3 separate regions of the Homo sapiens genome follow, and regions 2 and 3 are each linked to region 1. Evidence: promoter capture Hi-C in 16 types of primary human blood cells and fetal thymus (Javierre and others, 2016). All regions are on one chromosome and are shown on one strand. The core of a region is centred on a gene start or on the middle of the fragment in contact, and the rest is flanking DNA. Distances in the headings are between cores, read along the strand shown.

Region 1 (2,932 bases), core at 268-2,767:
AACAAGGAGGTGGGGGGGGGGCACTGACCTATGACCCCTCCTGTTTCAGTCTGCAAACTGCTCCCCTCCACACCCACTTCCCTTTTGCCAGACATTGTCAGCCCCAGAGGCTCCCGCCAGCCCCCCAAAAGCTCATAATTAAAAGCCCGAGGGGGCAGAGAAGGACCTGGCTGCAGGGGAGCCCGGCAAACCCAGCATCCTGGCGGAGGCGGGAGGCCCGCCGGCCTCTGGAAACCACGCGGCTGCCTCCCCACCGCAGCCATTCCCCGCTCTCCCTGGGGGTTCTCAGATGTTGCCAGATGGCAGAACTGAATCTGCTGAGACGTCACTCCAAAAAAGGAAAGTTGAACTGAAAAAAAAAAAAAAAATTCAAACTCTCCAACATCTTAGGAGAAAGCAGAAGAGGAGGGAGGGAGGGAGGCTCCAGGCCCAGGGCTCCCAGTGCCCTCTGCTGTTCAAAGAGATCTGCCCTGGTTGGAGAGGGCAAACCTGGAGGGGGTGGGAGGAGGGGGTAAATGAGGACACTGGGTTGTCAGGGCGGCCAGGGGGGCCAGGTTCCTGCTGGAGCGGAGAGTGTCTGCCTGTGCGTGGGGGAGCGAGCACATGTGTGCCGTCTGTGACTGCGTGCTTGTGCAGGCCGGGCGTGTGTGGCTCCCAGGGTCACGCTTTGGGATGTGTGTGTCTGTGTGTGTGTGTGGGGGGGGCGGGGGGGACACAGGCTCGTTGCATTGTCTCCGCATTTGTGTCCCTGAATGTCCCCAAGTGGGACTTCACTCAACACATTCGTGAGTCCCTACTGCGATAGGGCAGTGAACAAAATAGAAATCTCTGCCCTCAGGAAACTGGCATTCTAGCGTCTGTGTCCTCCGGGGTGCTGTGAACTCGCGTGGGTGTCCCAGTATTTGTCTGTGTGAGATCTGACATCTCCGGTCCGTGGTGGGTGGTGAGTCTGCAGTGTGTTCGCCCGGGCTGGGTCTCGGGTCTGGGGAGGCCCAGCGTGTTCCTGCCTGGAGAGGGCTCTGCGCTACTGTCTGCTCCCGTCCCCAAGTGCCCCACTGGGCGTGCTCCTAAAAGGCCCTGTGTAGGGCCCTCCCTGCGCGCCCCCTCCCCATCCAGCGGCCACTCCAGAGTTATAATTTAATAGCTGAAACGCGATTCCAGTGAGGTACTGGGGCTGGAGAGGAGGAGGAGGGCCCCCGGGCCCGCAGGAGAAGAGGGAGGGGAAGGCTGGGAGGCGCTTCCCCCCTCCTTCCTCCTCGGGGAGCTGCCAAAAAGAAACTCGGCGTCGCGCCCAAGTGTGTGCGTGCGTGTCTGTGTGTGTGGCGGCGTGCGCGCGCGAGTGGGGACGCGCAGGGCCTGGAGAGAAGGCGCGGGCCCTTTAAGGAGCCAGAGGGGGCCGGGCCGGGGCGCGTCGCTGCGGGCGGGGAGCCGGGAGCAGGGAGGCCGAGCCACCGCCTCCCGGGCTCGCGCCCCGCCCCCTCCTCCCCCTCCCGCCGCCGCCGCCGCCGCCGCCGCCGCCACCGCCGCCGCGGCCGCCGGGGAGCGCGGAGCCGCGGGCAGGCCGGGCCGCACCGGAGCCCCGCGTCCGCCGGCGCCCCGCCCGAGCCCTGCGCCCGCGCCCTGCGCTCCGCGATGCGCGCCAACTTGCGGGCCGGGGACCCAGGGCCGGCGCCCTAGGAGGCGGCGGCGGGAGGATCGCGTCCCGACCCGAGGCCGGGCCTGCTGCGCGCCCCCAGCCCGATCGGCACCGCCACTTGCCTGAGCGCCCCGGCGGCCCGAGCGCGCCCCAAGCCCGGGCGCCACCGCTGCCACCTCCGCGAGGTGAGTTGGGGCCGAGGGTCCCCGCGAAGGGCGGGGGGAGGCGCGGAGCGCGCTTCCGGGGGATCCGGGGAGGATCGGGCGGCGCACGCGGCGGAGTTGGCGGGGCCCCTGCACTCCCGAGTTGGCGCTCTCGGGGGGTGGCCTGCTGGGGAGCAAGGCGCCCCGCCGACACTGCGGCCCGCGTGCTCGGGGGCGCCGGGGAACTTAGGGGAACTCCAGCTCCCTAGCGAGGGGGCGGGAAGGAGGGAAGTGGCGTTGGGGTGGGCGGGGGGCGCGCTGGAAATGCACAGAGCGGCCCCCCACAGTGTGCGCCGGCTCTGGGGACTTGGCCGCCAGGCGTCCCTTGTACCCGGTGTAGCCCCGGACCTGGCGGGGCGACACTGCGCCTTATTTTCCATCGGGCAGCGCGGGTTTGAAAGCCCTTGGAGATGGTACCCCTAGCTCCCTGGCCTGGCTGTTGTGGAGGGGCGCATGAGGGTCTCTCACCAGCCGAGGGGGAGAGCCAGCCTTGTCCCTCCTAGGCGTGGGGCCACGGGGCGCTGGGCGGGGTCCCTCGGGAGAGTCGCCCCTGGTCCCCCTCCCCCGCGGGCCGGTGTTCCTGGTGTCTGGGCCTGCCTCCCGTGGCTGGTGACGCCTCATTGGGCCGCCTCCTAGTCCCTCCCCCGGGCTGTGCGGATACTTGGGATGCCACTACTTTGCGAAGTTGGAATTCAGAGCTGATCCCACTTGGGCACGACTGGGAAGACCCAGACCCTTGTCTAGAGGGCAGCTTCCTCAGAGGCCTGCGGGGAGTGAGGGCACCCGTGGGGTACGCCCTCCCCGCCCCAGACACTTGCAGGAGGAGCAAGCCGAGGGCGGGAGGGCACGGCGGGCGGGAGGGAGAGACAGGCTGTACCTGGGAGCTGCTGTCGCCCGGGCCCAATTAGCGTGGGGCGCCCGGCGTTATTTTTACATTGTAGGTTTATTTTTTTGGAAGCGAGTGTCCTCCCGCCGCCTGTCGCGCGCTCCGGCTCTCCGAGGGTCTGGTGCAGGCAGCGGGGGCGGATCTGTTCTGTCGGCTCAGCCTCCTCCCTTCCTCCCCCTCCTCCTCTCCCCCGTTGGTGAGAACTGG
Region 2 (2,932 bases), core at 313-2,812, 590 kb after region 1:
ACGGTTCACTTGTTTTGCTGCAACCTGGTCAGAGCCAGTTTCTTGTTTAGGGTTTTTTTTTTTTTTTTTTGGCCATTTTAGGTTCTAGTAGGTTATTTCTGGTATTCAGAAAGCTATTAATTTTATACATATACTAATACATGGTCACTCCATCAATTTTTTTGTCTAATAATTTTTGTTATTGTTTTCATAGTCAATAGCATCTACAAATATTTCCCTTCATTTTAGAGCCTCACTTCACTCCTATCTCACATATTACCGCTTTGTCAAAACATACAAACCTTGTTAAATAATGTCCCAATTTTTAATTTGACTCTCTGATACTTTTAAGTATAGACAACTAGTTTAACATTTATGTGTACTTTTTGCATACCAAGTACCTTTTTATTGCTTTTATTTATCCCCACTTCTTAAAAATTAGAAACAAGGATTTGTGGGGGTTTTGTTTGTTTTGTGAGACAGTCTCCCTCTGTTGCCCAGGCTGGAGTGCAGTGGCATGATCTCCGCTCACTGCAAGCTCCACCTCCCGGGTTCACGCCATTCTCCTGCCTCAGCCTCCCGAGTAGCTGGGAATACGGGTGCCTGCCACCACGCCCAGCTAATTTTTTGTATTTTTAGTAGAGACAGGGTTTCACCGTGTTAGCCAGGATGGTCTCGGTCTCCTGACCTCATGATCCACCTGCCTCCCAAAGTGCTGGGATTACAGGTGTGAGCCACTGTGCATGGCCAGGATCTTTTTTTTTTTTAATCAAACATTGATTTGACCTTAGTGTAGCTGGTAACGTGAGGTCAATGTGAATTCCAAGGGAAAGCTCACGTCTCTTCCAGGCAGCCCTCTGAGATGGCCAACCTGGTCTCCCCACTTCTACTCTCCACCCCCAACACGCCCCCACATCTTGCATGCAACGACTAGAGTGGCTGTTTAAAGATACAAATCTGATTATGTCACTCCTCTTCGTAAATCCCAACCCATATCATGGTTTCCCATTTCACTCGGGATAAAATACAACCACTTTAACCTGCCCTACATGACCCTACTTGATCTGGCCCCTGGCCTAGCCACTCTTCCCCTTCACCTCCATAGTCTATCCACATTCATTCTTTCAGTTCCTGGAATGGGCAAAGCTTTTTCCCCACTTTGAGGCCTTCCCACATGCTGTTCCTCTGCCTGGAAAATTATCCCCCACTTTCCTCCACACTAACACCTACGCACTCTTCAAATCTCAGCTTAAATCTTATTTATACAGAAAAGTCTTTCCTAGGCCCCTTCTCTCCACTCTAAAATTTGGTCTCCCCTTTTTTATACTCCCTCATAGCAGGTGCTTCTTAACTTTCACAGCAGATACCAGTTTGTGATCATACGTGTAGTTGTGATTGTGTTTAAATTCCAATCCCCCTCACAAATCATAAGCTTCAAGAGAACAAAATAAGTTGATTTTGCTGGCCACACTACAGGCACTCATATATATCTGAAAGAAAGAAAAATACATAAAAAGCCCCTAATCGTATCTCATACATCTTAAAATGTTACCCATCACATCATTCAATCATTATTCAAATGATTAAAATATTAAATCTCAATATTAAAACTCTGATGCAGCCTGCAAATTTAGTAACAATCCCTTTTCCCTGAAGGACATAAAAGCTAATCTGAATCTGCTGCTGCCACAGAAAAATACATGTACAACTTACAACTCTAAGGAAATAAGCTTAAATATTATAGTGCGAGTATTGTCTAGTGTTCAGTTTGCTAATATGTTTATTCACAGTCAACTAATTTATATGCCTTATTTTTTAAGGTATGTAAAACCACTAGGGGCTGGGCACAGTGGCTCACACCTGTAATCCCAACACTTTGGGAGGACTGCTTTAGGCCAGGAGTTTGAGACCAGTTGGGGCAAGATAGTAAGAGCCTGTCATTACAAAAATAAAATAAATCAGCCAGGTGTGGTGGCACATGGTTGTAGTCATTCCTAACTACTGGGGAGGCTGAGGCACAAGGATCACTTGAGCCCAGGAGTCCCAGGCTGCAGTGAACTAGAATCATGCCACTACACTCCAGCCACGGCAACAGAAAGAGACCCTATCTCTCTCTCTTTTTTTTTTTTTTTAATGAAGAGGAAGAAAAGAAAGCCCTAGGAAAAAATGCTTTGCAAAATATTGTTAAGAAGACTAATGTATTGTCAGTACTTGATAAAAATTAATTTAAAAAGTCACAAATTAAAAAGCATTCAAAGTTGACTATCTGTAGTGCTCTGTGATATGATACACACACATCTGGTCAAAAAATATAAATGATATTGCAAATAATTTTTGGATCACAAAGGCTAATAAAACCAACCTTTATATATACTACTTTACATTCCACAACACATACGCACTGTATCACTGAACTCTATGGAGCAGACAGAGCAGGCCATTTACAGAAAAGAAAACCGAGGTTTGGTGTGATTCAATGTCCTCCCCAAGGTCACACAACTTCTAACTGCTAGAGTCAGAACTACCATAGGGGAGGGGTGGCTGCTTCCACATATCAATTTCTTAACCAAAAGAGAACTTCATCATAAATGCCGAATCTCGATAATTAGCGTAGATCTGTGCTCCTATCACCGAAATTTCATCTCATCAGAGAACCACCACCAGCAAAAAAGCTGTTTTAAAGTTAAAACTTAAACTGCTATCAATTTGGGAAATGGCTAAACCATGATATACTGAAACTATGGAACATGGTGCAGCAGTTGTTAAAAAATGACTTGAAGCATTACATGCTAACATTGAAAGTTACGGTGCAACAGTCCTTGTTAAAGCAGTCAAAAATGATGTTAAGTGCACACACGTAAAAGTACTCCAAAAGATCTAGAAGGATAAACACCACACACATAATAGTCGGCATCCCTGAAGACAGAGGTTGATAGTCAAAGACAAAATGCCA
Region 3 (2,932 bases), core at 295-2,794, 560 kb after region 1:
CTTAAGCCACTCCCTCCCCTACTTTGTGCAGAGCTTTGTGGGTCAGCTGCCCCTCCCCTACCTAAAGAGGCCCCCCGGCTAGACTCTGTTTTCATCTCCTTTGATTCCTTTAAAGCCCACAGGACTTGTAATTATCGTATTGGTTCCCTGGTTTTTAACCTGTCTCCTGTACTAGGATGTAAGTGCCATGAAGGAGGAACTGTGTGCGTTGCTCTCTGTTATAACCTGGCAATGAGAGGTGTTCAATGAATATTTTCTGAAAATCTATAGAGTACTTCAGGACACCCTCTGGCACCCACACACATATCCTGCTTCATTCTGGTGGAGCAGATAAAGGTACATTTCTTAGTGCCTTATTTCCAGTCTTTGATAGCCTACAGGGGACAAAATACACCACAAATAGAATAAGGAGGAGATAAAAGAAGAAAATAAATCTCAAAATATTCACTCTGAAATCTTTTAAGGTTTAGGACTATGTTTTAGCAATCTTTTCATTTCTTTTACTCTATACGCTATGATACTTTAAAATTAACTAAATGAAATCAATAGGTCTTCTTAAAGTAACACTTTTAATATGTTCCATACAAAGAGAACATGCATGGGTGTTTGAGGAGATGTAATGTTAAAATGTAAAATAAACTGGACTGCTTATAGGTGAAAGTGTTACAATTACAAAATTCAATTAGGTCCCCAAAATTTCGGCAAAAATGGTCATATATCTACAAAAATTATGTTTGCATCTATCCTTTGTCCTAGTAATAATTCTAGAATATATCCTAAAGACACATTGGTAAAAATAGGAAATGACTGATATACCCGGTTATTCACTGAGGCAGTATTTGGCAGCAAAACTGCAAGCAACCGAAGGCCATCGATAGGGAACTAGCCGAGTCGAGTATGGCACCTCCTCACAAGACAAAAAGGAATGAGGACAAGCACTGTGCACTGACATGGAGTGAACCCAGGTCACACTGTTAAGTTAAAAAAAAAAAAAAAGGTACACAATAGTATATGTTCTATGCTACCGTTTCTGCAAAAAAGGAAGGTAATATATAAAATAAACTCTGGCCTGGCACACTGGCTCATGCCTGTAATCCCAGCATGCCAGGAGGCCGAGGTGGGAGGATCACTTGAGGCTAGGAGTCTGAGACCAGCCTGGGCAACATAGGGAGACCCTGTCTCTACAAAAAAAATTAAATTAAATTAAATTAAAAAGTTAGCCAGGCATGGTGGCACACACCCGTAGTCGCAGCTACTCAGGAAGCTGAGGCAGGAAGATGGCTTGAGCCTGGGAGTTCAAGGCTACATTGAGCCAAGATTGCACCACTGTACTCCAGCCTCAGCAACAGAGTGAGACCCTATCTAAAATAAAATATAAAATATAAAATAAATAAATAAAATAAATAAGCATGGTGAAAGATAATCCAGAATTTAATTTAATGATTACTTATGGGGGAGAATACAGTTAAGACTTCTCTGAATATACTGTTACATGACTCTGGAAACATATGTTTCTATAGTTAAAAAATAAAATTAAATGAATGTTAAAACAAAATAAAGAGAATAAACCTATCATATTGGTGACATAGCCACAAATGGCTTTTGAGCATAGTATACTGATTGCACATACCTAGAACATATTCTTTTGACAAATAAGCTGCAAAGAAATCACACTTCTTTCAACAATTTAACTGTTACTGTGGTGTATTTTAAAGTAGGTTAATACAAATAAGTAGTTTATGTTAAAGTTGTTAGGAGCCAAGATTCAATGTAGGAAAAATTAGATTTAAGTATAAAATCAAAGTTAAGAAAAAATTCTGTAATATAAAATTTGACTTAGACATATCAGTCTGAATTCACTTTTTTTTCTTTTTAGTTATCACCAAAAAGACCTGGAAGCAATAAGAAGCGATAGCAATGAGCACACCTACAGCCCCTTCCCTTAAATCCTCTCCCCACCAAGAGGCAAGGGGTCCTTGGAGGAATGGCTGGGTTCAAAGCCAGAGTAGCACTTACAAAATGAGCCTGGGACATCCTGTTATGCCAGAAAGCAAGAGGGCCGTGCCAAAGGAACACAGAGCCAATCATGCAACTGAGCATCAAAAGGAATAAGAAAGGCAATTGAGTGAGACGCATTCAATATACAAACCCCAGGAGCTCATAATGACTGTAGAGAATGGGGAAGAAAGAGACAGACAGGCAGGCAGAGAGATGGAGAGACCCAAGGCACTGAACAAAATTGGAATTAACTAGGGGCCCAACTTTTTACCCTAAAAATTGGTAATTAAATGGAGAGAAGCATCTATCCTATTTCCTCTATGAACTCTCTTTCAAGACAAAGAAACAACCAGCTAATATGTGCATTCTCCTCATCAAACACCTGATTCAAACCATGAAAAGCAATGGGTGAAAAAAGCGGCTGGAAGGCTGATCCAGGACTTGACACTGCCAGGACCAGGCTGTCACCACCTGAAGCCAGGGATCGATCTTAGCATGACTCAAAGAGGAACAACCAGACACGTGTGCCTCCTGCTGTGGTGCAATGGGAAACACCCAGCACCCTCTGAAGACATTCTTGTCAAAAGACTGAAGCAAAACCTAATCAAGCCTCTGGAGCTAATTTTTAATGGAAAGAACTGAAGGGACAGAGGAACTACTAGGAAGCAAGTAGCAAAATATCAAAAGGTGAGCCACTCTACAGCACAACTGCCCCTTTTTTTTTGCAATAAGGACACGAGGGAAAAAAAGCCGGTAAGGTGGGAGGAGTTGCTCTAAATGAAAGCGATTTGAGACATAACAATCAGATGTAATCAGAGGAACTTCTTTGCAATCTGAAGCAAACCAGCTGCTAAAAGAGGACAGTCAAGGAAATGTGATTCGGGGTATGAGATTACACTGTGTGCTGTTAACTATGTGATCATGTCATTGTAGC

What was found. Contacts are between HindIII fragments. The CHiCAGO score rates a contact against its expected background, and 5 or more counts as called.
Region 2: a contact is called between a fragment that was not itself captured here and the fragment with the promoter of NCOR2 in region 1, in 5 of 17 cell types (non-activated CD4 T cells, naive CD4 T cells, activated CD4 T cells and 2 more). The highest score is 6.9, in non-activated CD4 T cells.
Region 3: a fragment that was not itself captured here is called in contact with the fragment with the promoter of NCOR2 in region 1 in 2 of 17 cell types (naive CD8 T cells and fetal thymus); the score reaches 5.4 in naive CD8 T cells.

The regions. Positions count from the first base shown.
Region 1 is chr12:124,566,197-124,569,128 of GRCh38, reverse strand. It overlaps NCOR2 (nuclear receptor corepressor 2), which reads left to right and starts at 1,517. Exons shown (of 49, transcript NM_006312.6): 1 at 1,517-1,821. RefSeq lists enhancers at 1-64, 65-925, 1,092-1,141 and silencers at 1,262-1,511, 1,622-1,981, 2,002-2,111, 2,252-2,471, 2,672-2,771. The HindIII fragment of the contact is 7,570 bases long and covers 1-2,932 here.
Region 2 is chr12:123,974,601-123,977,532 of GRCh38, reverse strand. The region is part of intron 2 of ZNF664-RFLNA (ZNF664-RFLNA readthrough); the gene reads right to left. The region is part of intron 2 of ZNF664 (zinc finger protein 664); the gene reads right to left. Among named protein-coding and RNA genes, the nearest start is that of ZNF664-RFLNA, 2.9 kb to the right of the region's middle. The HindIII fragment of the contact is 298 bases long and covers 1,414-1,711 here.
Region 3 is chr12:124,007,950-124,010,881 of GRCh38, reverse strand. The region is part of intron 2 of ZNF664-RFLNA (ZNF664-RFLNA readthrough); the gene reads right to left. All of the region lies in intron 3 of ZNF664 (zinc finger protein 664), which reads right to left. Among named protein-coding and RNA genes, the nearest start is that of ZNF664-RFLNA, 36 kb to the right of the region's middle. The HindIII fragment of the contact is 5,312 bases long and covers 1-2,932 here.